Linked DNA regions of Homo sapiens: region 1 is linked to region 2. Evidence: promoter capture Hi-C in human tissues and cell types (Jung and others, 2019). All regions are on one chromosome and are shown on one strand. Each heading gives the region's core, a stretch centred on a gene start or on the middle of the fragment in contact. The rest is flanking DNA. Distances are from core to core; before and after follow the strand shown.

Region 1 (2,700 bases), core at 46-2,545, 340 kb before region 2:
TCCCCAGGGACTACGGCCTATGTCCCTCCATGGCATCTGCCATAGTACAGCCCCACTGGGGTGCAGGAGATCCACCCACGCCCCTGCCCATCTTGGCAACAGGGCCAGGTCCTCTTGGGCCACCAGCAGCAGCCCCCGCCTGCCTAGGCCTCAGTGGGGTCAGTGGGCCCAGCCCCCCTGGCTAAGCTGTCACACTGAGAAGGGGGACCCTTTCTTTGAGAAGGAAGCACTTCTGCCTGAGCAGCCACAGACAGGAGGCTGAGGGCCCAGGTGTCCCCAGGTGCGGAAAGGGTATTGGAGATGGAGAGCCCAAGCTCAGGCTTGGTACAGGTTGGGCTCCCGGTGGGTTTTCTGAGTCACCTGCCACCCCCCGGCCCTGGTGGCCTTATGCTGTGGCAGGAGAGGGTCTGGCTTGCCTCCCTAAGCAAGCCCCTGGGCTCACCGCGACAAGCATGAAGCCCTTTCCCTCCAGACCCGCCGAGGCGCCCTCCAGGATCCGGAGTCCACGAAGAGCCGCTCCCCGGTCCCGTCCCTTGTGGGAAATGCACGGGCAGCAGCTGTGGGACTGCGGTTTCTGGCCCGGGCCCGGGAGAGCTACGAGGGTGCCCGGGGGCCGTCCGGAACTCACCTGCGTCCGCGCTGGAGCTCGGTTCCAGCGCCGCGCTCTGGGACCGCTCGGGCTCCGCGGGGCAGGGCGCCGCCTCAGCCGGGGCGCACAGCTGCTCCGGGCTGCGGGCGGCGGCGCTGGGACCGGCCAGAGGGGCGCGCACGCCCAGGGGCAGGGGCTTCCTCTCCAGGACCGTCCGCGGCTCGTCGGCCGGAGCGAACACCAGGCGCTGCGGCGGCGGCGGCGGCTGATCCCCGGGCCGGGCCGGGGCGCGCGTGGGGTCCCGGGGGCCGCCGTCGGCGCTCAGCAGGGAGGTGCGCAGGCCGGCCACGAAGCGCTCGAAGGTCAGGTAGCCGCTGGCCGGGGCCACCTGGCGCAAGCCCTCCAGCACCCCGCGGGGCAGCTCCCGCGCGTCGGTGCCCTGCCAGCGGGACTCGATCTCGCGCAGGTGCACGCAGCCGCGCCGCCGGTCGTCCAGGATGTCGAACAGGGTGCGCAGGCTCTGCAGGAAGGCGCGCGGCAGCCCCTCCGTGCTGGGCGCGGGTGCGGGGGGAGGCACGCGGCCCCGCTCGGCCATGGCGGCCCCGGCCATGGGCGCCCGGGATCGGTCCCCTCGTCCACCCGCGTGCGTCCCAGCGCGGCCCCACGGAGGGGCCGGCCCGGCGAGCTCAGCCCACGGCGACAATAGCGACTACTTTTGAATGGGGCCCTCCTCGCGGCGTCAGCCCTCATTAACATGCGCCGCGGCCATTGGCCGAGCCCGTCCCATCTGCTCTCTGATAGGCTGAGAGGAGGTTTGATTTTTTTTTTTTTTTTCTTGCCGAGTGGCCCTGGGAGGCGCGCGGAGGCCCTGGGCAGGCGGAACCGGATCCCCCAGCTCCTGCTCCACTCTGGCCTCGCAGACCTTCCTTTCTGCCCCGCCCCAGCCCCACCAAACCTCCTGCCGCGGCCAGGCGCTTTCTCGGATCCAGCTGTGGCTGGCTGCCCCGGCCACCTCTCCAAGGGGCGGGGCCTGGCACCCTACAAAAAAACCTGTCTCCAGGTAGCCTCGTGGGGTAAGAATGGGGGGGGGCACCCCCTCCAAAGATCCCACTTTTCCCCTCTAGTTCCCTGGCCGCAAGCACAGGTGACCCTGCGGCCCCCTTCTCTTCCACCAGGAGGGCCCCAAGAGGATCGTAGGCTCCAGCCAGCTGGGCGCTTCCCACTCACAGAGGCCTTTCTGTCCCCACTGCTGCTGGCTCCTCCTCTGGTCCCTCGGGACAGTCTGGCCTGGCCTGCCTGCTGCAGAACAAAGCCACTTTCTCCTGTGTCCCCAGATCCCCATCTAGTGACCAGCTCCCTCTGCCTCTTGCTCTCCTCTCCTCCTTCCCCTGGCTGGACACCTCCTCCAGCTGCTCTCCTGGCTCCCGCAGCCCTGTCCCCCTGCCTCTGCTGTGTTTCCAGCTGGGATCTGGTCACTCTGTCTTCATTTGGTCTGTCCACATGGGAGGTGAGACCAGGCCTTAGCCTGGGTTCTAGCCCTGGGAGCCCATCTCAGGGCTGGCCAGTAGTACCCTCTAGGTTCCAGGGAGGTGTTCAGGGTGCAAACACCCTCCCCAGACAGGCCCCCAATCCGAGACTTGCCTTGGCCCTCTGCGGGTCTCCCACCCTCCCTCCTGGGCAGGCCTCAGCTGGCATACCTACCTGGGTCTCTGTCCTCAGGCCTGAGCCACTGGTGCCTGTGTCTCAAGCTGTAGAGGCATCTTCCCAGGCCAGGGAGTATCCTGGGTCCACTTCTCTTCTGGGTCACTCACTCTAAGTGGGACTCCTTCATCGTAGGGAATGCTGGAAGGACATAAGAAGCTCTGAGCCTGGAGCAGCCCATCAGAGCTTGGTCCTGTAAGCCAGCTTCCCCTTTAATGGCTGGTCTGCTCAAAAACCCAGCACGAGGCCGAGGCGGGAGGATCACTTGAGCTGGGGAGTTCAAGACCAGCCTGGGCAACATAAGGCAACCCTATTTCTACAAAAAGTTTAAAAAATTAGCCAGGCGTGGTGGTGCATGCCTGTGGTCCCAGGTATTTGGGAGGCTGAGGTGGGAGGATCCCTTGAACCCA
Region 2 (2,700 bases), core at 88-2,587:
CCCAAAGACAACCAACCATGTGCCCATCAACAATTACTCCCTCTGCCCCTCCTCAGCCCCTGGCCATTTTGTGTCTCTGTGAATCTTTCTATTTTGGGCATTTCCTATAAAGGAGACCACACAGGTTCTGTTGTTTTTTTTTTCTTTTTTTTTTTTTTTGAGACGGAGTCTCACTCTGTTGCTCAGGCTGGAGTGCAGTGGTGCCATCTCGGCTCACTGCAAGCTCTGCCTCCCGGGTTTACGCCATTCTCCTGCCTCAGCCTCCCGAGTAGCTGGGACTACAGGCGTCCGCCACCACGCCCGGCTAATTTTTGTATTTTTAGTAGAGACGGGGTTTCACTGTGTGTTAGCCAGGATGGTCTCGATCTCCTGACCTCGTGATCCACCTCCCTTGGCCTCCCAAAGTGCTGGGATTACAGGCGTGAGCCACCGCGCCCGGCCAAGGTTCTGTTCTCTTGTGGCTGACTGACCTCACTTGGCATGGTGTCTTCAAAACTCATCCCTGCAGCAGCATGTGCTGGAACTGCCTTTCCGTGGCTGAGTCCTGCCCCACTGTGTGCACAGACCACGGGCTGTTTGTCCAGCAGACATTCGGGCCGCACCCCCTTGTCTGGCTGTTATAAACAGTGCTGCTGTGAACAGCTGTGTGCATGTTTCTGTGTGGAGTGTGTTTTCACTGATCTGGGGACACACATTCCTAGGACTGGAGCTGCTGAGTCTCGGTGTTTCTATGTTTAGCTTTTTGAGGAACTACCAGACTGTTTCCACAGTGGACGTGCCATTTTACGCTAGCATCGATAACACACGAGGGTTCTGATTTCTCCACAGCCTCACCAACGCCTGTTGCGGTCTGTCTTTCGTTTTTTTAAACTTACCAATTTAACTTAAGGATTGTTCCTTTCCTTAACAATTAACATGACCAATTTTAAACACAAAAAGTAACTTTCCAGGGATATTGCACAGGAGATGGAGAAGGAGGCCAGCAGGTGTGACAGGTGTGGGGTCCCACACCGCCACTCCAGGGGGGTGCTGGCATGTTTGGCCCCCGTGGGCTCCACGTAGGTCGCAGGGTTTCTTTGTATGTTTGTTTTTATGTTTTTGAGATGGAGTCTCGCTCTGTTGTCCAGGCTGAGACGGAATCTCACTTTGTCGCCCAAGCTGGAGTGCAGGGGGGCGATCTCGGCTCACTGCAAGCTTTGCCTCCAGGGTTCAAGTGATTCTCCTGCCTCAGCCTCCCGAGTAGCTGGGATTACAGGTGCCTGCCACCACGCCCAGCTAATTTTTGTATTTTTAGTAGAGACGCGGTTTCATCATGTTGGCCAGGATGGTCTTGAACTCCTGACCACAAGCAATCCGCCCACCTCGGCCTCTCAAAATGCTGGGATTACAGGCGTGAGCCACTGCGCTGGGCCTGTCACAGGTTTGTTTTTTTTTTTTCTGTTTTTTGAGATGGAGTCTTGCTCTGTTGCCCAGGCTGGAGTGCAGTGGGGCGATCTCAGCTGACTGCAACCTCCGCCTCCCGGGTTCAAACCGTTTTCCTGCCTCAGCCTCCTGAGTGGCTGGGATTACAGGCATGCACAGCTAATTTTTGTAATTTTAGTAGAGACAGGGTCTCTCCATGTTCGCCAGGCTGGTCTCGAATTCCTGACCTCAGGTGATCAGCCTGCCTCGGTCTCCTAAAGTGCTGGGATTACAGGCAGGAGCCACTGCTCCTGCCCAGGCTGCGGTTTTGAAGGACACCTTCCCTGTTCACCGTGTTGGTTTTAGCTCTGCGGCAAGCTTCTCTGTGCACCCCACCTCCCTGCAGCTCACTGCCCACAACACATGGATGTACCATGGGACAGCTGCAAGGACGGGTCAGGTGGCCCATGGGCTCTGGGGAACCCTTTCTGGGAGGTGCCAACAGCACATGTTGGGGTCACCATCACAGACGGGGCTGGGGCCAACAGTCCCCCATCAAGGGTGGGCTTTCCCAAGGACCCCAGTTCTGATCACACAAGGTAGAATCTGATGAATGATAAACAGCATTTAAAAACCATGTTTTATAAAAATACTTAATGGCATGGGAAAGGGTTCACAGAGCAGCATAAAGTCGCGTTGCCCTAAGGGGATCACGCTGCACGGTGCAAGGTCCCTTCTCAAAACCAGGCAGATGCACGTGTGAGGGCCTGGCTGCTCTGCCGACGGTGCCTCTGTGCTTTCTGTTTTGTATTTTCTGAATACTACACAATGTATACACCCTGGTTTGTATTCATGAACAAAGAAAAAACCATGAATGATATTTTTGAAGGTTAAAACTAGGATGGGATCTTAGCCTTAGCACCTCCACACCTCACCCATGGTGACAGGGCCTCTGCCTGCCGCCGGCCACTGCCAGCCACACCTGGGACCCACAGCCAGGGCTTTCGCTCTTCTGCAGTGCCTGAGGGCCAAGAATTCTGCGGTGGCTGGCTGGGTGGCCGCTCCACCAGGGGGAGGGCACTGCACGTCTCAGTCCTCAGCAGCCCGAGGTTCCCAGAGTGAGGGACCCACAGGGACAAAGGGGCGGACTTGGGGCCCTCACGACCTATCTCCATGTCACACAGCCTCTGCCACCTTCCCATCAGGCCGGGCACCCCCAGGTCCAGCTCACACTCCACCGCAGCTTCTGCACAGCCAGGGAGGGACCGCCGGCAGCCCACCGCCTCACCTCCCAGGTCT

The links. Contacts are between HindIII fragments. The study calls those that stand out against the background at their distance.
Region 1: the fragment with the promoter of SAPCD2 here is called in contact with a fragment that was not itself captured in region 2 in 2 of the 25 tissues and cell types used here (dorsolateral prefrontal cortex and spleen).

What each region holds. Positions count from the first base shown.
Region 1 is chr9:137,069,262-137,071,961 of GRCh38, forward strand. SAPCD2 (suppressor APC domain containing 2) reads right to left here and starts at 1,296. Exons shown (of 6, transcript NM_178448.4): 1 at 629-1,296. The coding sequence starts at 1,199. RefSeq lists silencers at 624-673, 724-773, 944-1,353 and an enhancer at 1,458-2,437. The HindIII fragment of the contact is 19,800 bases long and covers 555-2,700 here.
Region 2 is chr9:137,413,776-137,416,475 of GRCh38, forward strand. All of the region lies in intron 1 of EXD3 (exonuclease 3'-5' domain containing 3), which reads right to left. Among named protein-coding and RNA genes, the nearest start is that of EXD3, 8.0 kb to the right of the region's middle. The HindIII fragment of the contact is 3,762 bases long and covers 1-2,700 here.